5 separate regions of the Homo sapiens genome follow, and regions 2, 3, 4 and 5 are each linked to region 1. The links are contacts of gene promoters, found by promoter capture Hi-C in blood cells and fetal thymus (Javierre and others, 2016). All regions are on one chromosome and are shown on one strand. Each heading gives the region's core, a stretch centred on a gene start or on the middle of the fragment in contact. The rest is flanking DNA. Distances are from core to core; before and after follow the strand shown. Region 1 holds the start of SMNDC1 (survival motor neuron domain containing 1). Region 2 overlaps VTI1A (vesicle transport through interaction with t-SNAREs 1A). Region 3 overlaps ZDHHC6 (zDHHC palmitoyltransferase 6). Region 4 overlaps ACSL5 (acyl-CoA synthetase long chain family member 5). Region 5 has its middle 19 kb from the start of MIR6715B.

Evidence for each region. The method cuts DNA at HindIII sites, captures the fragments that hold promoters and counts their contacts. A CHiCAGO score of 5 or more calls a contact.
Region 2: a fragment that was not itself captured here is called in contact with the fragment with the promoter of SMNDC1 in region 1 in 1 of 17 cell types (total B cells); the score reaches 5.1 in total B cells.
Region 3: a contact is called between a fragment that was not itself captured here and the fragment with the promoter of SMNDC1 in region 1, in 1 of 17 cell types (non-activated CD4 T cells). The highest score is 5.5, in non-activated CD4 T cells.
Region 4: a fragment that was not itself captured here is called in contact with the fragment with the promoter of SMNDC1 in region 1 in 1 of 17 cell types (non-activated CD4 T cells); the score reaches 6.6 in non-activated CD4 T cells.
Region 5: a contact is called between a fragment that was not itself captured here and the fragment with the promoter of SMNDC1 in region 1, in 2 of 17 cell types (total CD4 T cells and naive CD4 T cells). The highest score is 6.8, in total CD4 T cells.

The regions. Positions count from the first base shown.
Region 1 is chr10:110,302,705-110,307,000 of GRCh38, forward strand. SMNDC1 (survival motor neuron domain containing 1) reads right to left here and starts at 2,216. Exons shown (of 6, transcript NM_005871.4): 1 at 2,044-2,216; 2 at 764-883. The coding sequence starts at 883. RefSeq lists a silencer at 1,728-2,047. The HindIII fragment of the contact is 6,895 bases long and covers 1-4,296 here.
Region 2 is chr10:112,459,096-112,463,391 of GRCh38, forward strand. It overlaps VTI1A (vesicle transport through interaction with t-SNAREs 1A), which reads left to right. Exons shown (of 8, transcript NM_145206.4): 2 at 1,429-1,487. Among named protein-coding and RNA genes, the nearest start is that of VTI1A, 14 kb to the left of the region's middle. RefSeq lists an enhancer at 1,915-2,209. The HindIII fragment of the contact is 2,929 bases long and covers 787-3,715 here.
Region 3 is chr10:112,428,063-112,432,358 of GRCh38, forward strand. ZDHHC6 (zDHHC palmitoyltransferase 6) reads right to left here. Exons shown (of 11, transcript NM_022494.3): 10 at 4,178-4,224; 11 at 2,238-2,845. The coding sequence ends at 2,742. It overlaps ACSL5 (acyl-CoA synthetase long chain family member 5), which reads left to right. Exons shown (of 21, transcript NM_203379.2): 21 at 1-314. Among named protein-coding and RNA genes, the nearest start is that of ZDHHC6, 17 kb to the right of the region's middle. The HindIII fragment of the contact is 1,309 bases long and covers 1,627-2,935 here.
Region 4 is chr10:112,375,750-112,380,045 of GRCh38, forward strand. The region is part of intron 1 of ACSL5 (acyl-CoA synthetase long chain family member 5); the gene reads left to right. Among named protein-coding and RNA genes, the nearest start is that of ACSL5, 3.8 kb to the left of the region's middle. RefSeq lists enhancers at 68-217, 99-599, 358-577, 600-1,100. The HindIII fragment of the contact is 4,411 bases long and covers 1-4,074 here.
Region 5 is chr10:112,316,523-112,320,818 of GRCh38, forward strand. It overlaps the pseudogene GUCY2GP. Among named protein-coding and RNA genes, the nearest start is that of MIR6715B, 19 kb to the left of the region's middle. The HindIII fragment of the contact is 4,938 bases long and covers 1-4,296 here.

The DNA of each region.
Region 1 (4,296 bases), core at 966-3,465:
TATATTTGCAAATTATATATGGCATTTTTCTGAATCAGTCTGGTGTCCTGAAACACAAAAGGTATTTACTATGATGGCTCTATGTTTGTCTTGAAATCCCAGTGCAGGTTTTCAAAAAAAGGTTTCATTATCTACTAAACTCTACCATGACAAAGATCTCCTTTTCACCACATAGTTCAATTTCCACAAGTGTCAACAACTTTACTGTAAAACCTAGCCTTAAGTCTGAACATCTATGTAACAATTATACAAAGCACTTGTCTCTCTTTAGGCATTTTTGTGGTGTGTTTTCAATACAAAATGTAATCCACTAGCTTTGGGGAAAAAAAAAAGGCACGCATTTTCAAAGAATCTTGTGGTATTAAAAAGAATCTTAAGGTTCTATTTTTCTCCTTCAATCTTTGTTACTTTTTGAACTAAATTTCATTTGCCAGGTCTTAAAAACTAAAAGCGTTTTTCATTGTGAAGTTACATGTACCTCTCGTCTTGAAAATCTGACAGACTTGGAAATTTCTATCAACTTTAGTTTTTAAAAATTATGTAAGCACACAAGATTTATATAACAAAGAACAATATTTCACTCTGATGTACAGAAACCTGAGAACTGGGGAAGCAACCCTACTTCTACAAGCAATGGTACCTACAGAATTTACATATATACATAGGGTGGGGTGTAACCCCTCAAAAGGCGCTTTGGGTACTTAGGGATTCAAGCAATAATTTGAAAAACAGAGAAAAAGTACAATTGTCTACCCATACTTACTTGTAAATCTTTCTTCAATTTTAGCAAATCTTCATTTTCTCCATTTCCAGATAATGCAGCTTCAACTTGCTGGAGCTGAGCTTTGTAGCTTGCCAGCTGCTTTGCTAAATCCTCTGACATCTAGGGAAAATAAAAAGGGTTAGACCATGAAAACTAAACCAAAAATCAAGGCATAAAAAACTAACTCCCCTGTCTGCCTGAATTACCAGTTTTTGCCTCTAACTCCTTCTAACACTGCAGCTTAATTTACCACCATTACCTTTACTCTCAGTTTAGACTTCAGCTAAACCACAAACTTAAAGGCAACAGATTCTGAGGATTATAAACTTGAGATACATTCCATACTTTAAAAAAGCATACAGATACAAAGAAATTTCTAATTTTCTTTTAACTCCTATCCACAGGGTAGGTGCTGAATTCGGCTCAATAATCAGTGTTATCTTTTTAAAAAGCACTACTCTGTTGGAAAAGTCGAAACTTTCAAAAACAATCCAAATACTTATTTTTAAGCACTACAGTATGCTTCCAAAGCCAAACAAGTGCGTTTTTAAATTAACTACACAAACTACGATCTTTACTTGAACTATTCAATTAAGAGTGTATTTAAAAGTGCCTCTCCAAAACAAAAATCTTTCGCCCAGTCGCTTAAATATTTATCGGTGCATTATCTTCAGCAAAAAGAACAGCACAGGTACTCTCCCATTTAGGCATTCTAACGAATGTGCCTTTCGCCAAATCCAGCTCAGTCATTTTCCTGAAAATAAGATACCAATTAACCTTTTTTGATGGTTTATAAGCAAATGTACCACGTTTCCGAGGACCCTTCTCCTTCGTAAAATTCCCGTCCAACCAAAGGCTGGGAGCCTGCAAAGGCCCCCTAAGAGTTACAGCGACCCAGGCTGCTCTCCTCCCCGCCACGCAGCACCTCAAAGCCCGCCACAACTCGATCATTCGGACGTGGAAATCCACACGCCAGCTCCAAGACCACCGCCGGAGCCCCGCCGCGCTCCAACAGGCAGGCTCCACAGGGAGCCGCGCGGCGCCCAGCCCCACCCGACCCGGTCCCCTGCGGGCCGTGTTTGCCGCCGCCGCACGGAGGCCAGCGCCGGCCGGGCCGCCGAGGCTCAGCTCTGGCTGAGAGACGGCCGTGGCTCCGGGATCCAGGGCCAGCGCCTGGGCGTCTCCGGCGAGGCGGGCTCCTCAGCCTTGGGCCTCCGCTTCACCTCGGGAGGGACCCGGGCCCGGCCAGGCCTTACTCTCTCCCTCAGGGGGGTTGTTACCTTGTGTGGGGCTGGGGGCGGGGCGGCGGGAAGGGGTCGGGGCAAATGAGCCCAGTGGTAGTGGCGGTGGCAGCAGCAGCAGTAGCAGTAGCAGGAAAATCACCGCGACGACAGCAAGGCGACCCGGTCTGAAAAGGAAGAACTCGGTCGGCGGCGAGGGGGAAGGGAGGAACGCCGGGCACTGGAAGGAGGAAAAGACAGAGACGGTGAAGTCTCGCGAGAAATACAAACTCTCGCGCGAGGTCGCTCGACTCACGTGACTCCGCGCGCCCTCTAGCCAGTCCCTGGCTGTCAGGGACACGAAGTAGGCGGGGCCTAGGAAGGAAATGGCGTAGCTGGGCTTCGCCAGGCGCGGAATGCAGGTTATCTTCCTGGAGTTCCGGCTTGGAATTTATTGGAAATGCAAATTCTCAAGCCCCACCCCAGACCTCCTGAATCCAGAGACTCTTGTTTTAATAAGCTCACCAGATGATACCAATGTCCGCTGACGTTTGAGAACCACTGCTTTTCCGGGGCGGTGGTGGTGGGTGGCGGGGGGTGTTGGTGGGGGCTCTCTTTACGTTGCCCTGGCTGGTCTCCAGCTCCTGGGCTCAAGCTATCCTCCTGCATCGGCATCCCAAAATGCTAGGATTACAGGCGTGAGCCACCGCGCCCAGCCTGAGAACCACTACTTTATATGATACAAGCCTTAGTAGTAACAGAAAGCTAATTAAATCGTGACAGAAATAACCTATTGGAGAGAAGATTGATTTCTTTAAAATCTGTTTTGTTAAAACCTACTTGGTTTTAATTTAGTTGGGTTAATCTCGCCTGATAGGGAACAACGTCCAAGTTAGTCTAGAATGGTAAAGAGTGGTAGGAATACTCACATTTGTGTTCAAAAAGAAATGCCCCTTGTGTATGTTTGTAATAATATATACGCTTTCTGGACGGATACACAAAACTGTTCAGAGGTTTGGAGTGGAAGCCAAATGTTTTATTGATTACCCTCTTTGCTGTTTACCCTTTTTCCTTTTCTTTTTTTTTTAAACCATATATATATAATTTATTTCAATTAAAAAAGCAATAAAGGCCTGAGACACAAAGTTTTATATAGATGACAGGAAGCAACCTTTCCTGGGAGGTTGGGAGTTTGTTGCTGGATCCATAAAAAGGCCCACTTCTCGCGGATCACCTGAGGTCAGGAGTTCGAGACCAGCTCGACCACGTGGAGAAACCCCGTCTCTACTAAAAATACAAAAAAAAAAAACCAACAACAACAACAACAACAAAAAGCCGAGCATGTTGGTGCATTCCTGTAATCCCAGCTGCTCGGGTGGCTGAGGCAGGAGAATCGCTTGAACCTGGAGGCGGCGGTTGCGGTGAGCCGAGATCGTGCCATTGCACTCCAGCCTGGGCAGCAAGAGTGAAACTCCGTCTCAAAAAAAAAAAAAAAGGCCCACTTCTCAGATGGGCTCTTTTGAACTGTGCCAACATCTTTAGTTCCTAGTTTTCTTTTCAAGGAGCCTTCCCTTTTGTTCTCTACACACACACACATAACCCTTGCAGTGAGTCAGATAACCTGTATAGATGGAAACTAGGTCGGGTTTGTGAGTGTGAAAGATTGAAATTGCAGCAGAGGGCAGCAGTGTGTAGCTAGAATTAAGAAGGCAGACAAAACAGAAAGCATGTGCTTTTAAATAAATATTCGTTTAAAATAAAATGTAGTTTTAGAGAACTTCTGTTATTGTAATTGTGTGTTTTAAGAACCGATGCGAGGAGGAACTTCCTTGAATATAAAGTCAACCTTATTGTGTAAAAATCTCTTAAATGAGAACTTTTCCTGAACCCCATAGATCAGAAAATAGGCAAATATTCATTATAAGTTCCATCATAGATTTCTATACCATCTTAATAATTTTTTCAGGATTGTTTTTAGGATTGTTTTTATCTATGCAACATTCATTTATAAAGAAAAGCTATATTGAATTTTAATTTTCACAAAGAAATAACAGTTTGTATGTGCCAGATACCATTCTAAGCACTTTACACAGGTTCATTTAATTTTCACAATTGTATGCGGTGTTGCTCCAGACAAAACTGGAGCAGACAAAACTAAGAGCAATACTTCAAATAGGCTTTCTGAATTACTATTTCCTTTGAAGTGTCAAAATTTACTTTCAGTGTCTGATTTTTCTTAAAACATTTGCATTCAAACTTAATCATGTTTATTTAAAAAAAAGTATCTTAAACCTTTAGTTTTGAAACGTGATA
Region 2 (4,296 bases), core at 1,001-3,500, 2.2 Mb after region 1:
CATTAGGCTCCCATGTGACATAAACCCAGTTTTAAATAAAGAACAAGAAAGTTGTTGGCTCAAGAAACCAAACTATGGTAAAGTCAAGCTTTTATAAAGTCAAGCCATTTCAGTTATTTCAAGCCAGGAACTAACTATATCTCTCTCTCTCTGTCTCTCAGTTGTGTTTCTTTTTAAATGCAGGTTTTATTTTCAGCCATTGCACGCTTGCTTTCTTCTTGGAGCTAGACCAATGGATGCTAGCAGCGCTTCTAGGCTCATTTTTTCGTTACCAGGAGAAAGGAAAAGGCTTTCCCCTTGCTCTAGAACTTTGTTCTCTCTGGTTCATATATGCCTATCCCACCGCCCAACTCCCAGATGAATGTGGCCAGAGGATTGAGTTACTGAGATTAGTCCAGCTAGGATTAGATGCCGGTCATTTGCCAAGTCACTGTGACTGAAGAAGCAGAGTCTTTATGGAGATAGCATTTTCATTGTCCTGCTTGGTGAGGAAGAAGGCCTTTGAAGAGAGTAGGGGCTGTTGCCTGAGAAGAGAAGCATGCTAGGCAGACAAAAACTAGAGATGTTCAATACATCTGGTTTGCACAAAACTTAACTAGGGTATGTGAACAAATAGGCTGACTGGCTGGAATGAGGGTATGGGAAAGCTTTCTGAAATTGTCTGCCAGGACATGTCTCTCCTAGAGAAGGGAATTACAGTTGGGTTATAACTTGATTGTATTAGAAAAATAAACCACATACAGAGACTTAGCACTTTATAATATTAAAGTAATTTCACTTGCATCAAGCTTATTGGAGCTAAAAGTAATCCCGTAGATATTTTTTATTTCCATTTTAGAGAGTACAGAGTGAGTCTCAGAAAAAAAGAGAAAAATTTCTTGCCCAGGATCCCATAACCATTGAGTGAGATAGTAGCTTTCGGTTTGGAATCAGTAGTCCTAACTTCAAATATTTATTCCATTACACCTGATTCTCCATGCTACTGAAAGTACAATTTTTTAAAGGATTGTTTTTGCCCAGTTTTAGGAAGTGTTTTTGTATATAACTTTTAAATTGTATTAACAAATCAGTTATTCCCAATTTATTAAAGTTATGACTTCACAGATTCCTTAGGCCAGCACAAATCTGCTCTTGTTGACTTAGTCTCTCCTAAAGGGCAACATAATTTTTAGTCTCTCTTAAAAATAGGTCTCTCTTAAAAATGGTGTCTCTTAATAATTAGGTATTCTATCAGATTATATGTTTCTAGATAGCCTGGAATCAATGGCTTAAAGTGGTTTCAAACCCACCAAAGAATGATATGCTCTTTTGCCTTATGTTCTGTAATCTGATTGACCAGAAAGGAAAAAGGCATATAAAAATTGAAGTTTTAAAATATTAAATTTATTTGTATCTTTAGCAATTTCTTGGTATTATTGTTTGTTTCAGATGAAAAGAAACAGATGGTTGCAAATGTGGAGAAACAGCTTGAAGAAGCGAAAGAACTGGTATGTACAGACAGTAATGTATTTTAACACACAGCCAGAGCCGTTTAAGCTAATGTCTTCCTCTAGCCTGTTTTATACATTGTGGAAATGTGAAGCATTGCTGATTAGCATTTTATAATTCAGAATTTGTCAATTTTTAAATTGAAGAGATTTTAGTAGCTTCTTGGGATTTTATTCTTCTTAGCAAAGGTGATTCATTAAATATCTATCTCTAATTTTTATTCCATCATAATACGTTTCATAACAGCTGTAAATAGCTAATGCTGGATAAAGGCATACTGGGTACCAGACACTGGATTAAAAATACTACTTGCTTTATAATATTTAATTTTCTCAATAACCATGTGAGACAATATTATTTGTCAAAAATGATAAAGGGTCTGATATTTTCTGCTATTTGCAAACTCTCAAGTGACTCACTTGCTTGCTACAGTTTCATAGATGACTATGTCTCATGTCTTCTCTAAGACATGAGACTCCTAGGTCAGAGACAAAAGATTTTTATTACCCACAACAATAGCAGTTGCCTGTGTTTCAGGCTGGTTGCATCAGTTCCTGAGTCTGAATTCCCACAGTGGTGATGCAGGCAGGCCTAGATGTATGCTTACAACAGCATTAGAATACCTTAGAGGAATAGAACGAGAGCCTAGAAAATGTGCCACTTTCTAGCAGCCTATAAGCAAGGCTGTTGTTTGTCCCAGGGGGACACATTATTTCCTCTCCCTGAGCTCCCCGCAAACCCAATCCTGAAAAATGGCTCAGACAGAGTCCTCAGGACCTTGTATTCTTGGCAGACCAGGCAAGACATGTAGCAGCATGAGAGAACCTTGGCCAAGTGATTCTCAACACTGTTACCACTCCCATTTTGTGGATGGGGAGACTGAGACTTAGAAAGATGAAGTAACTTGTTGGAGGTCCCAAATCCTGTTAAGTGATAGAGTAAATATTTGTTCCTAGTTTGCTAAACTCAGAGCTCTGGTTCATCTACTACTTTTTTATATAAATACATCAGTAAAACATGGAGCAAAAAAGGACTAAAAGTATTGTGTCTTAATTTGGGGTTTTAAAAGCTAACTACTACAAGCATGACTCAACTTGTTACTATGCATTGTGGCCCTATGAGTGTGTTGCTTTTCTATTTTATTTTATTTTTGATATAAAGTCTCACTCTGTCACCCAGACTGGAGTACAGTGGCACAATCTCGGCTCACTGCAACCTCTGCCTCTTGGGCTCAAGCGATTCTCATGCCTCAGTGCTCCAAGTAGCTGGGATTACAGAGCAATACCACACTTGGCTACTTTGTTTGTTTGTTTGTAGAGAGGGGGTTTTGTCATGTTAGCCAGGCTGGTCTTGAACTCGTGCCCTCAAGTGATCTGCCCGCCTTGGCCTCCCAGAGTGCTGGGATTACAGGCATGCACCACCATGCCTGGCTAATTTTGTATTTTCAGTAGAGACAGGGTTTCACCATGTTAGTCAGGCTGGTCTTGAACTCCTGACCGCAGGTGATCCACCCACCTTGGCCTCCCAAAGTGCTGGGATTACAGGCCTGAGCCACTGTGCGCAGCCGATACTGCCCTTTTGATGAGGACCTTGGGAGAAAAACTCTTTTGATTTGACTATTGGGATTAATTGTGTTTCTGCTGACCATCTGATTTGTATTAGTCTCTTGGACACTACACATCTTGCAATGATCTTTTCTCCCACTCTGCACTGGCCACATAAATGTTGTGACAACATGGAACAAGTGCACATTAGCCTCATTCTTGGTTTCATTTTAAGTGCTTGTTGTGTGTTTCCTTTTTCTGTCTTACCTACTTTTAATTTAGTTTTAAATATCCATATAAAATATCTTCAACAAAAATATACTTAAGGCTCAGATTTTGGCTTGCAAGTATTTTTGCTGTTATTTTTCCAGATGATCCTGTTTACCTTGTTAGAACTAAATAATTGATGATCTCAGAGAGTTATTTTAAATAATTTTCTTGCTAAGTAATGATTTTATTTATTGGTGCTTCTCATTTATGTTGAGACATAATCATTTAAACTATCACTGTTTAAATCAAGGCTAATTAAAATTATCTTTTTTCTTTATAATAAATTGAAGCCTATTAATTGAAAGGTGATTGTGTGGTTTATCTGTATGCTACTGTAGTTATTCAGTCGCTAACACTGAATACAGGTTTTATTAGTGATAAGCTGGTAGGGTTCCGGAAGGAACTTATTAGAAAGCTTTAAAAGGTAAACTACATGGCAGCATTTTTGCATGTGATTTTAGCAGACATGGCCTGGGCCAATTTGTTGTTGTTACTGGTTTTTATTTATTTATTTATTTATTTATTTATTTATTTATTTATTTATTGAGACGGAGTCTCGCTCCATCGCCCAGGCTGGAGTGCAGTGGCACGATCTCGGCTCACTGCAACCTCTACCTCCCCAGTTCAAGCAATTCTCCTGTCTCAGCCTCCCGAGTAGCTGGGACTACAGGCACCCGCCACCACACCCAGCTAATGTTTGTATTTTTAGTAGAGACGGGATTTCACCTTGTTGGTCAGGCTAGTCTCAAACTCCTGACCTCAGGTGATCTACCTGCCTCGGCCTCCCGAAGTGCTGGGATTACAGGGGTGAGCCACTGCGCCTGGCCTGGTTTTTATTTTTTAATGGCAACTACAAGTAAGCCACTTCTGCTATCTTGTATAGTGCTTGCTGTATCTTCTTCATCACTTGCAATCATCGTTACTAGAGTTAATTTTAATCTAGCAATTATCAAGTAAGAGACACTGTTCTAAGTACATTATAAGAATTGCCTCA
Region 3 (4,296 bases), core at 1,031-3,530, 2.1 Mb after region 1:
TTACAGTAGGAACTGGGGAGTAAATCTGTTCCCTACAGTTTGCTGCTGAGCTGGAAGCTGTGGGGGAAGGAGTTGACAGGTGGGCCCAGTGAACTTTTCCAGTAAATGAAGCAAGCACTGAATAAAAACCTCCTGAACTGGGAACAAAGATCTACAGGCAAGCAAGATGCCCACACAACAGGCTTATTTTCTGTGAAGGAACCAACTGATCTCCCCCACCCTTGGATTAGAGTTCCTGCTCTACCTTACCCACAGATAACACATGTTGTTTCTACTTGTAAATGTAAAGTCTTTAAAATAAACTATTACAGATACTTACGTTGTGGTGTTTCTTTCCTCATGGACCATGATGAAAATCAGTCTTAAACAAGGACCCCTTAAAAATCAAGTACAGTATCTGTTCTTAAACTTGGGTACACAATAGAATTATCTAGGAAGTTTAAAAAGACACTAATGCCCAGCACTTTGGGAGGCCGAGGCGGACGGATCATGAGGTCAGGAGACCGAGAACATCCTGGCTACTATGGTGAAACCCCATCTCTACTAAAAATACAAAAAACTAGCTGGGCGTGGTGGCGGGCACCTGTAGTCCCAGCTACTCAGAAGATTGAGGCAGGAGAATGGCATGAACCCGAGAGGCGGAGCTTGCAGCGAGCCGAGATCGCACCACTGCATTCCAGCCTGGGTGAAAGTGTGAGACTCTGTCTCAAAAAAAAAAAACAAAAACAAAACAAAAAAACCACTAATGCCTGGTTGCCACTCCAGGGATTCTGGCTTAAATGGCCGGATACAGCCTGGGCACTGAGATTGTTAAGAAGACCCACAGATGATTCTAGTCTGCGAACAGGTTAGTGAAGAAAAGTAAGTTCTGAAGACCAAACCTTCTTATCCCATAGCTGTAAAGAATAAAACAAATACCAGCTGAGCCAAAACTCCAACTGAGCACAAGTCATATCCATTCTTTTACCATCTTTGTTGTACTCTAATTATAATCTTGAATATTAATAGTATTCTTTTCTGGCCTCCAACTGGAGTTAAAGAGAATGTTCTTGGATGGTCTTTCTAGATTTTGAGCCCAGAAAAGCCAAAGAAATATCTATTCTTAAGGATCTGAAACAAAAGGGTAGGCAGGAATTAACTTTTAAAGTCTAGCTCCCATTATCACTTTAACTTTCTCGCCTTCACTTCCTTTCCTATTCTCCCCTCACGCATTACAGCTGAACCTCACTAGTTACCTTCCTGTTTCTCAAACGTGTCAGACACAGGTCCAGCCTGTTTTTGTTCTTGCTGCTGTCTCTAAAATGCAAATATCCCAAAGCACATGACTTGTCCCCTCATCTGCTTCAAATGCCAACTCAAGACTGTCCTACCTTCTTGCTTCACAATAACATGACTCCATCTTACATATATTTTACCTGTCTGTTCACTGCTGAATTCCCAAGTGCTCTTCCCTTATCCTCAACTATTACAGGCCTGGCCCCCAAAGCTTCACATTCCCTGCCTTGGAAAGGTTTCTGAAGTCCAGAGAAATAGGCTTTCTCTTTCCTTCTGTGATTCCACTGTTATGTTTAGACAAGCCCAATTTAAGCATCCAAGCCCACCAGCTTGGATCCTACCACTCACACAAGCTTCAGCTTTTTACTCAAGGGTACATGAGTAGTTTGATATCACTATGTTTAAAGTCTAGAACACTACTGCCACGGGATCCTTGGGGTGTTGCTTCCCCAGCTGGAATCCTCTGTGGCTGGCAGCCCAAAGTCCAGAGGGGGCCTAGGCGGCAGGGCGCTGGTGTCAGCACCACTCAGAGCTCACGTACACCTGGCCAGGTCCTCACAGCACCCGGGCTTGGCCTCACCTTTGCTCCAGAGCGAGTGCCAGGAGCAGGAAGAGGCCAAGCAGTTGTTGGGGGGGGGGTGTGGGGGGGGTATTTCCCCTCGGCCCCCTAGAGCACAAGGATGCCCGGGTCCGCAGCCACGGCTGGACAGCTGTAGCTACGCTTGGCTCCTGCCTATCACGGCTCCCCCTCAACACCCCTCAGGCCACCACTGCCATCCGCTGCCATCACTATGACCGCAATATCCCATTAATAGGGTTAATATCTTGAAGCAAGTGTGTCATGTCTTAAGCCACGTTTTAAGATGCCAGTTGTCCACAGGGCAGCAGAGCAGTTTTTCCATAAGGAACTAAGATGAACCTTTTTAGTCAGCAAAAAGAAAAATGCTTTAAGTAAAAACTGATTATACCCAACATCCATTGATCTTTATTTGATTTGACAAAATCTGCATTTTTAAAAGACAGGTAACAAAATCTGAGGTTATACTGAATCTGACAAATTGAGTTCTATAGTATCTAGAATATCATATAAGAAATATCAACTGAGGGAAAAGAGAAGTACCACATGCAGATGCTCCTGGCAAGGGGGGAACTGTATCTGCAGGTGAGGTCCAGAGTGTGCAGTGCATAAGAAAATCCTACAGAAAATGCCGTTAACTTACTTGGATGAAATGTTTTTCCTTTGAGGGGGAGGAAGAGGTGGTAAAGAGGGGCAGGAATTCAAAGGCATATGCAGAATGGCTTCTCCATTTCAAAATGGTAATAAAAATATTTAAATCATGGCACTAGGGCACCTTTGAGGAAAAGAACATCTTAACCAGAGTAGGCTCATTGCATAATTCTTTAGTAATATGTACAATTTTCAAGTAATTAAGCAGACTTAAAGGATAATTTTGTTTTAACAGCAGCTATCTATTTTTCTTCTCCCCCTCTGGGGCTTGATCTGTTTCAGCATCACAGGGACACTTTTCCACACATTTTCTAGGGAACCAACCCCTTATTCTTGAAACACCTGAGGGAGAAAATGAAATTGAGGTGAAATAGTCTGATGGATGACAGTGACATTACTGAAAGCAGTAAGTCCTATTACTTCAAATTAATAAGCTTGTAGTTAGACTTTTATTCCCCACTTTGCTATCTATTATAAGCACAGTTTGAAGGGGAAAAAAATAAGATTTTTAAATGTTCATAACAAGCTAGGAACAGGTATTTCCCAAATTTGATGATCCCGAATAGGGACTAATGTGGTTAAAGACAGCTCCTAACTAGAGTCAGGGGGAACTCGGTATGGGTGTTTACTTATATGTGTATGATCAGGAAAGGTGTTTTTGGCACACCATCACACTGTCTTTTCCAGGGAACTATCTTCTTGTAGTCTTTGTAAATTTCCTTTTTAGACTTTTTCTAACATATATATTTCTTTCTTTTTTTTTTTTGAGATGGAGTCTTGCTCTGTCACCTAGGCTGTAGTGCAGTGGCACGATCTCAGATTACTGCAACCTCTGCCTCCCGGGTTCAAGCAATTCTCCTGCCTCAGCCTCTGGAGCAGCTGGGATTACAGGCACACACCACCATGCCCGGCTAATTTTTGTATTTTTAGTAGAGATAGGGTTTCACCATGTTGGCCAGGCTGATCTTGAACTCCTGACCTCAGGTGATCCATCTGCCTTGGTCTCCCAAAGTCCTGGGATTACAGGCATGAGTCACCACACCTGGCCTAACATATACATTTCTATATCACGGCCGTCATAAGAGGTTAATTTATGATTAACCCCAACTATTTTTTAAAGAACATCCCGAGCTAATCTTTACTTTAAAAAGAAACAATTATAAAACTTAAGAAAAAAAAAAACACAAAGTTTCAATCTACTGGTTTTTATAACAACTTAAGAGAAATGCTCAAAGTGGGGGCAGCAAATAGTACAGGGGTTTGGTGCATAGAATCTGGAGTCAGACTGCTTGGGGTTAAGCCCTAGCTCCATCTGTTTTCAGTGCATAGCTATGGGCAAGTTGCCTCTCTGTGCTTCAGTTCCCTCAATCAAATATAAATAATAGTGCCTACCTCCGAAGTATTTTGGGGACTTCTACACCTTAAGGGTAGCACTTATACAAGTACTTTTCGCATAGTTATGAGCTCAAATGTTAGCTATCATTAAAAAGACCTGAAAAATACAAGAGCTATAGAGAAATATATAAGGAAGTTCCTTTTGTTGCTTAGTGATATACCCTTCTATGCAGTTCCCCTAATGCATTAGGCATGATTGGTTTATAAAAGTTATTCTTGTAAAATTTGGAATTATTGCTAATAGTCTTGTCCTTTAAACATGCCCTTCCATTTCCATACCTTCTATAAAGGAATCATCAAGAATTTTGTCTCCATATAACCAGTATCTGAAATATTTAAAAGATGAAAATTAATTTTTTAGGCTAGATATTAATTTTGTCCTTGAAGAAGAAATGCAG
Region 4 (4,296 bases), core at 619-3,118, 2.1 Mb after region 1:
AACCATGCCAATTGAACGACTCACAGCCCTGTCGTTCCTGACTTGCTTATTTTCTTGGCTTTGCCAGAACTTCTTCAGAGACCAAGGCAGGCAGCTCTGGCGACTGGAGAGAGGCGGGGTAGAAGGTGTTTGTGTGGGTCTGAGGGCTGAGGTACCCTCTAGCCAGACTTTCCTGTCCTCCGAATCCAGCAGGGAACAGCGTCACCTCTGCCTCTGTGAGGCTTCTGATCTGAGGGGGCACCTCAAGTCATTTTAGTTTGTTTGTTTTCATCTTAGTTGAAAGATGATAGGCCACAGGAGGGCAGGGTCAACTGTGTTGAGGCAAGCTGGCTTTTGTGTCGGCCCTTAGGGGCTGAGGTGAAAGGCTTTGACACGGAGCCAGGGTAGCTTTGGCAGCTTCTCCCCTCCTGGTCAGAACACTTCCACTTTCAGTTGTGAAAAAAAAAATTAAAACCAGGAAGTGAAGTCCCCGAGCACGTTAGAAAGCCTGACATGGCCTGACTCGGGACAGCTCAGAGCAGGGCAGAACTGGGGACACTCTGGGCCGGCCTTCTGCCTGCATGGACGCTCTGAAGCCACCCTGTCTCTGGAGGAACCACGAGCGAGGGAAGAAGGACAGGGACTCGTGTGGCAGGAAGAACTCAGAGCCGGGAAGCCCCCATTCACTAGAAGCACTGAGAGATGCGGCCCCCTCGCAGGGTAAGGGGACCATCGAGGGGGTGTTATTCAGCAAGGGGGTCTTGTGAGGGTGTGACAGAGGCCAAGGGGGCATCCTGACCCCCGACTTTCTTTAAGCGACTTAGAATCAAGGGCCGGCTGAGTTCCACGGGCACATCATGCTGTCTCCCTCCTGGTCTCGGTCATGCCTTCAGACCCTGTGTCAGGAGGAGCAACGGGAAGGAAGGATGTGGGGCATGCATGGGGCTCACTTTCCTTCTCTCGACTCTCTTGGGGAAGGTGAACCAAAACAGAGACCTCTTTTTGTGGGTCTGAGCATCCAGCATAGCTCCCCTGAGGTGGGCTGGGGGTTTGCCCTCAATTTTATGTTGGGTAAGACTGATGAATGAGACCAATGGGGTGGGAGAGACAGATGAATGGAGCTGAGTGTATTTTAGGAAGTAAGGCCACAGGTTAAGTCTCAGGTGCTGCTTAATTCCTAAGTACTTCCTTCCCAATGCCCACTCCCTGAGGGTCCTAAGGTGAATCTCAAAGACCCTCAGGGAGTAAGCACTGGAAAGGGACTCTACCACTGGAGACCCTCAGGGAATAAGCACTGGAAAGGGACTCTACCACCGGAGACCCTCAGGGAATAAGCACTGGAAAGGGACTCTACCACCGGAGACCCTCAGGGAATAAGCACTGGAAAGGGACTCTACCACCGGGGCTTGGTACCTTCTGAGATATCAGCCTTTTTTTGGTGGTCTGAAAGGTAGAATTGAATCTATAGCTCCAATGTGTAGGTGATTAGTATTCTATATCAGAGGCAGAGTCTTAAAAAATAAAGTTAAGGCCGGGCGCAGTGACTCACACCTGTAATCCCAGAACTCTGGGAGTCTGAGGTGGGTGGATCACCTGAAGTCAGGAGTTAGAAACCAGCCTGGCCAACATGGCGAAACCCCATCTCTACTGAAAATACAAAAATTAGCTTGGCGTGGTGGCGTACGCCTGTAATCCCAGCAACTCAGGAGGCAGGACAATTGCTTGAACCTAGGAGGCGGAGGTTGCAGTGAGCCGAGATGGCACCACTGCACTCCAGTTTGGATGACAGAGCAAGACTCTGGCTCAAAAACAACACACAAACAAACAAATAAAAAAACATTGAAAACTGACTTAGTTTTCTTTTAAAAAAGGAGTAATTGGTTTTGTTTATTTCTCCCTTCATATTCTGATATGGAGTCACTCTGTGGTAGTCCCCTCCGATTGATCAGTATTCAAGGTTAAACACAGAACATGTCTTGAAAGAGGCATGGTGTAAAATTTTATAGCCATCTTTTGTGTATTTGGCATAATAAAAGGAACAAAAACCTAAATAAAACAAGAAGTGTAAGTGCAAATGCTTATAGGACAGGCAAGTAATATAGAGAAGTAAAGTAGATGGTGTGTAATAAGATGCTAATGGTGGAAACTTTAGCAAAATTCAGAGCAGGCATACCCCAGATAAATGCATTCAAATTTAATTATTAAAAAAGAGAAAACACTTTTTAATCCAGACCAAACAGAATATTTCAGCCTAGCCTGACCTAAAATAGTCTCTCCCAGGCTATATTGTAATTTTTTGAGGGCAAAGACACCAACAACAACATCAGCGTGTCATTGCATACCTAACCATCCACCTATAGTGAGACCACAGATACTACATGGAGGCTGGAGATGGAGGAAGGAGAGAGAAATGAATGGAGAGAGGGAAGATGAAGCCAGGGAAGTACCAGTACACAGTAGGTACTCTTATATTTAATCAAGACAATCTTCTTCTTCTTGTTTTTTTTTTTTTTTTTTTTTTTTTTTTTTTGGAGGAGCCTCACTCTGTCACCTAGACTCCCAGGCTTGAGTGCAGTGGCAACATCTTGGCTCACTGCAACCTCTGCCTCCCCAGTTCAAGCAATTCTCCTGCCTCAGCCTCCTGAGTAGCTGGGATTACAGGCATGCACCACCATGCCCAAATAATTTTTGTACTTTTAGTAGAGACAGGGTTTCACCATATTGGCCAGGCTGGTCTCAAACTCCTGACCTCAAGTTATCTGCCTGCCTAGGCCTCCCAAAGTGCTGGGATTACAGGTGTGAGCCACTGCACCTGGCCTATAGGATTTGCCAGCTTCTTAGAAACCAGGAATACAGTGTCTGCTCCTGTCTGTCTCTCATATGCCTCCTCAGCAGATGAGCAGACCCTCAGCTGGAGTGCAGTCAGAGGTGACTCTTGTGCCTGGCAGCATCAAGCAAGGGTGACGTAACCCCAGCAGCCATGAGTCCAGCCATCACTGCTTATCACATTCTGCTGGAAATGCATCTGGGTCTATTTCTCCCCTCTATGTCTGTACATCCTGAGGTCGGAAAGGGACTCTCTCACCAACTTGTCCTCCCTGGCGCAGGGCCTGACACTTCCTAGGTTCTCAACTCATTGTTTGAATAAATACATGAGATCTGGAGTTTGGAAGGTCAGACAGCCCGTGCAATGCTGTGGTCAGGCCACACTATTAGCCTTCTTTGGGGAAGCTGGTGGATCTCCCAGTCTTCATGGGCCATTCTATTCTAAGAGTTGTGAGGTTGCGAGTGGCTCAAGTTGAGGATTTGAGGTCTGGGGTAAAGCTAGGTCAGAGACAGGCCATGGTTCCCTACAACTAGAAGTGCTCTGTTTAAATAGAAATGAGGGCTTGTTGGCCGGGCGCAGTGGCTCATGCCAGTAATCCCAACACTTTGGGAGGCCGAGGCAGGCAGATCACTTGAAATCAGGAGTTTGAGACCAGCCTGGCCAACATGGTGAAACCCCATCTCTGCTAAAAATACAAAAGCTAGCTGGGCGTGGTGGCAGCTGCCTGTAATCCCAGCTACTCGGGAGGCTGAGGCAGGAGAATCGCTTGAACCCAGGAGGCGGAGGTTGCAGTGAGCTGAGATCTCGCCACTGCACTCCAGCCTGGGTGACAAGAGTGAAACTCCATCTCAAAAAAAAGAAAAAAAAAAAAAAGAGATGAGGGCTTGTTAAAACCTTTGCACAGAAGTGGAGGGGCAGTAATCGTTCAAGACCGTGGTCATCTCTTTTCTTTTGGGACATCTCGTAATAGAACATCTGATATTGGCAAGGATGTGAAAACTGAGGAAAAGGGAAGGAAAGGGGAGCTAGATTTGATTGAGGACTTCCCATGTGCCTGACAGCATACCAACTGTTCTACACACAGCATCTCCTTTAAGTAGCGATTTTCACCTGCTCCTTCTGTGTACAGTGGCGGGGAACTGATGCTCAGTGACTCTAAGTAACTGTCCCCAGGGCTACACATGTAGTAAGTGAGGAGCTGTTGCTCTGGTACCTGGAAGGGCACGACCTTGAAAGTTTGCCCCTGGCAATGACACCGTTGACAAGAAAGCTTGTTGCCTGCACTTTGAAACTGTTGACCCTTGACCACTGGTTGGGACAGGCAGTGCAAGGGCTGATTCTGCAGAAAACTAAGGCAAGAAGTCTGCTTTCCCAACCTCTTGCCTCACCCTGGCACAGGTGACAGGGTCCTAGCACTTTGTCCGGCCTATCTTTTTACAGACCCCCTTATCAGATCCAGTGGACTTCTGACACTGCTTCTTCTTACCCCA
Region 5 (4,296 bases), core at 766-3,265, 2.0 Mb after region 1:
CATTTAAAAATGATTTTTAAAATTTAAAAACTATTACGAGCTTGGAAATGCAGAACCCAGGGCTATTGTGTTAAGAATGCATAGCTGAGGCCAGATACGGTGGCTCTTGCCTGTAATCCCAGCACTTTGGGAGCCCAAGGCAGGCAGATCACCTGAGGTCAGGAGTCTGAGACCAGCCTGGCCAGCATAGCGAAACCCTGTCTCTACTAAAAATACAAAAATTAGCCAGGCATGGTGGCACACACCTGCAGTCCTAGCTGCTCAGGAGGCTGAAGCATGAGAATCACTTGAAGCCGGGAGGCAGAAATTGCAGTGAGCCAAGATCATGCCACTGCACTCCAGCCTGTGCAACAGAGCCAGACCCTGACTCCAAAAAATGTTTTGTTTTGTTTTTTTAAATAATGCATAGCTGAAGGTCCAAATTAAGAGTAGACACCTGATTCCTAGCCTGGGGCTCTTTCTACCAACTCAAGCTACCTCTAACATGGGCATGTCTTCCTAAATTCATGTACTAAAAGATGATACAATTATCTGGTGTAAAGGAAGCTACTATTGAGAAAGTTGTTGGAGAGGAATGCGTAATTTAAGTCATAACCTACTCTATGGGTGGTGAGTAATTTTTATCCCACAGTCCAGTCCAAATTGATTAGCCTAACCCTTGGAATGCTGATTTGAAAAAGACTCTGAAGCCATGTCAAAACTCCCTGGAAACAAGGGCCTTAATTGATTAGTGACACCTGAGATAGACAAAGAAGGCAGTAGAATTATTAATATCTGATCCATTTTTGTGGCATTTATGAAATAAAGGAAAAATTTCTCACTCCACTGTAACCAGCATGTAGTACAGTGTTTTGTGTATGGTAAGCACTGAGTGAGTGTATGAGGAAGGAAGAAAGGAAGGAAGGAAGGGAGGAAGGGAGGAATGGAGGAAGGGAGGAGGGAGGAAGGGAATGAGTCACATAGAACCAATCACGGCCATATAGATTTAATTTTGTTTTGTTTTGTTTTTTAGAAACAGGGTCTCGTTCTGTCACCCAGGCTGGAGTGCAGTGGCACAATCATAGCTCACTGCAGCCTTGACCTCCAGGGCTCAAGCAATTCTCAGCCCCCCTAAGAAACTCAAACTACAGGCTCACACCACCACGCCTGGCTAATTTTTTATTTTATTTTATTTTTTATAGATACAGAAACTCACCATGTTGCCCAGGCTGGTCTTGAACTCCCGGCCTCAAGGGATCCTCCTGCCTTAGCCTCCTAAATCACTGGGATTACATGCATGAGCCACCATGCCCAGCAGCTCTAAAATCCTAATGGTTAACTGAGTGAGAGCAAATATCTGTTGCACATCTAACTCACCCTCTGGGACTGGCCTCTCGTAAAGTTTTCTTGATGGAAGAGAAACTGGGTCTTTTCTCCAGAGATTCATCCCAACACACCCTCACCATGGCCACGATCTTTTCATTGCCCTTCTCCTCGGGCAGGGAAGGTTGCAGTGGGACTGCTGCTGCAGGGTCTTTGATTTGGTTGATGATTTCTGAAATTCATGTTGGGTTTAGACAGCCAAACATCAGAACTTTGTGCCACTTACTACACTTCATTTTCAATAGTAATTGTGCTCTTATATTTGTAAACTGAGTTTTTAAATAAATAGAACAGATTAGAATTCCAAAGTAATCTGGATATTTTAATAGGAATACTCTGAGAATCTGCCTGGAAAATGAACAATTCTAATGAAAAACATATAAACAAACATCCTCCTAATTAATTTGTTTTCAAATCAAGATTTTTTAAAATAGAACTTTGCTTGAGGAGAAGCATATCTCTATATGATTTCAGGAATGTATAGGCATTTCGTGTTGGAAACCCCCAAAGCGCGCTTCATGCAATTTTGTTAAATTTTCTGTAATATGTCGCAGAAATGCTATTTTAACACGTAATAAATGTTACCATCATGTCCTGCCTCTCTGTCCGATTTTCTAAACCTAATTTTTCCCACTTCTTCACTGGCTCCTACTGACATTTATTAAACATTCTGCTTAACCAGATGTTGTCAAGAAAATAATATTTTGAGAACAATGTATACATGTTTTGGCATAAAAATAAAAATACTGTGTGTGCAACAACATGGATAAGTCTTACATGCATTATTACTAAGTTAGAGAAACCAGTCAGAAAAGGCTGTGTACTGTATGATTCTATTTACATGGCACCCCAGAAGCAACAACACGCAAGCAGCAGTGGGCATATCTAGCATCATTTCTTTCTTTCTTTCTTTTTTCTTTTCTTTTTTTTTTCTTTTTTTTTTTTTTTTTTTTGAGATAGACTCTGGCCCTGTTGCCCAGGCTGGAGTGCAGTGGTGTGATCTCCGCTTACTGCAACCTCCGCCTCCTGGGTTCAAGCGACTCTTCTGCCTTAGGTTCCCCAGTAGCTGGAACTACAGGCATGCGCCACCACGCCCAGCTAATTTTTGTACTTTTAGTGGAGATGGGGTTTCACCATGTTGGCCAGGATGGTCTCGATCTCTTGACCTCGTTATCTGCTTACTTTCTAATACCTTTCTCCAACAAAAGAAGTCATGGCTTCTTGGAGAATTGACTGCATCTAGCACTGGGGCAGGAGATATGCAAAATGAGACTTTCTTGTCTTCCCAGAAATTAAGGAAATATACATTCTAGAAAAGACAAAATTTTAGAGACAGAAAACAGATCAGTGTTTTCCAAGAGTTTGAGGAGCAGAGAGCGTTGACTAGGTGAAGTGCAGGGGATAATTTTAGGATGAGGAAACTTTTCTGTAGGATACTATAGTGGTGGATAGATGACACTATGTATTTACCAAAACCCATAGAGCTTAATAGCACAAAAGTAAGCCATAAGGAAAGCAAACTTTAAAAAATACCAATTGGGAAATTAGGCAACCCCAAGATAGAATGCAAACAGCGATAAAAGAATCTAACAGTGTTACAAATATATGGCATAACCTTACTGAATGGGATGAGTGAGAAAGAATGCTGACCTACATCGCTTGTGAAATCACTAGAAACTTTCTAAGACTAAAGGCAAAAGGAACTATTCATAATCATCGTACTCTAGTTGGTAAAACTGTTTCTCATGGGGATGCAGATTAACAAGTCTAAAATCACCGAACACACACATAGGGATCGAACAAAGTACATGGATGGTGGATGGTGGGAGCCAGTATCTCAATGTTGGAATTTACAGAAAAGTAATGGGGAAGACTGCAATGAACCGTGATGGCGATGAGTTAGATTTGGAGACGTCAATGGGAACTCATGTTTAGTTTAATGTAGATGCAGATATATGTGTATGGGTGCATGTGTAGTTATAGAGATATGTATACATACGGGTTAGTATGCACACGCATTTCCCTACTCTGTCCACTGAGAAGGCCCATAAGCAACAACACTCCGGTAGCAATGAGCGTATCTAGTGTCAGCTCTAACTTTCTAATACCTTTCTCCAACAAAAGCAGCCAGGGCTTGTTGGAGAGAACTGGTTGCTTCTAGCACTGGCGCAGGGATATGCAAAATGAGACTTTCTTGTCTTACCAGAAAGTAAGGAAATACACAGAAACAAGACAAAACACCACAGCGATGGCTACATGTCAAAGAGACACAGAAGCCACCTGAAACGGAATGGCCAAAACTGGAACAATTTAAGCCACAAAATAAATAGTAGTGATTCAGTTATAACTCAAAGTATGAAATAAATATCCATGAGTCCATACTGACCTAAGTACTTGAAGAAATAAATGAATGGGCACAGTAGACAAATCTCCCACGGAGAAGAATTCCAAGTATTCCCTCCTCAAAGAGGTGGAACCTAACTTCCCACCCTTTTTTTTCTTTTTCCCTCTCCTTTTTTTTTTTTTTTTTTTTTTGTTTGAGACAGGGTCTCTGTTGCCCAGGCTGGAGTGCAGTGGCAGGATCTTTACTCCGCCTCCCAGGCTCAAGCAATCCTCACACCTCAGCTTCCAGAGTAGCTGGGACGCTACCACGTCCAGGTAATTTTTGTATTTTTGTAAAGACTGGATCTTCCCGTGTGCCCAGGTTGGTCTCAAACTCCTGGGCTCAAGCGATTCGCCCTCCTCGGCCTCCCACAATGTGGGGATTACAGGCGTGAGCCACCGCGCCCAGCCTAACTCTTCACTCATAAGTGTGGGTTTCACATAGAGATTTCTCTCCCTAGACTAAGTATGGAAGGGAGAAATCAGAGTAACTTTATGGTGGAGAAATTGACAAACACTTCCCCAGCCAAGTGATCAAGGTCAACATCAACA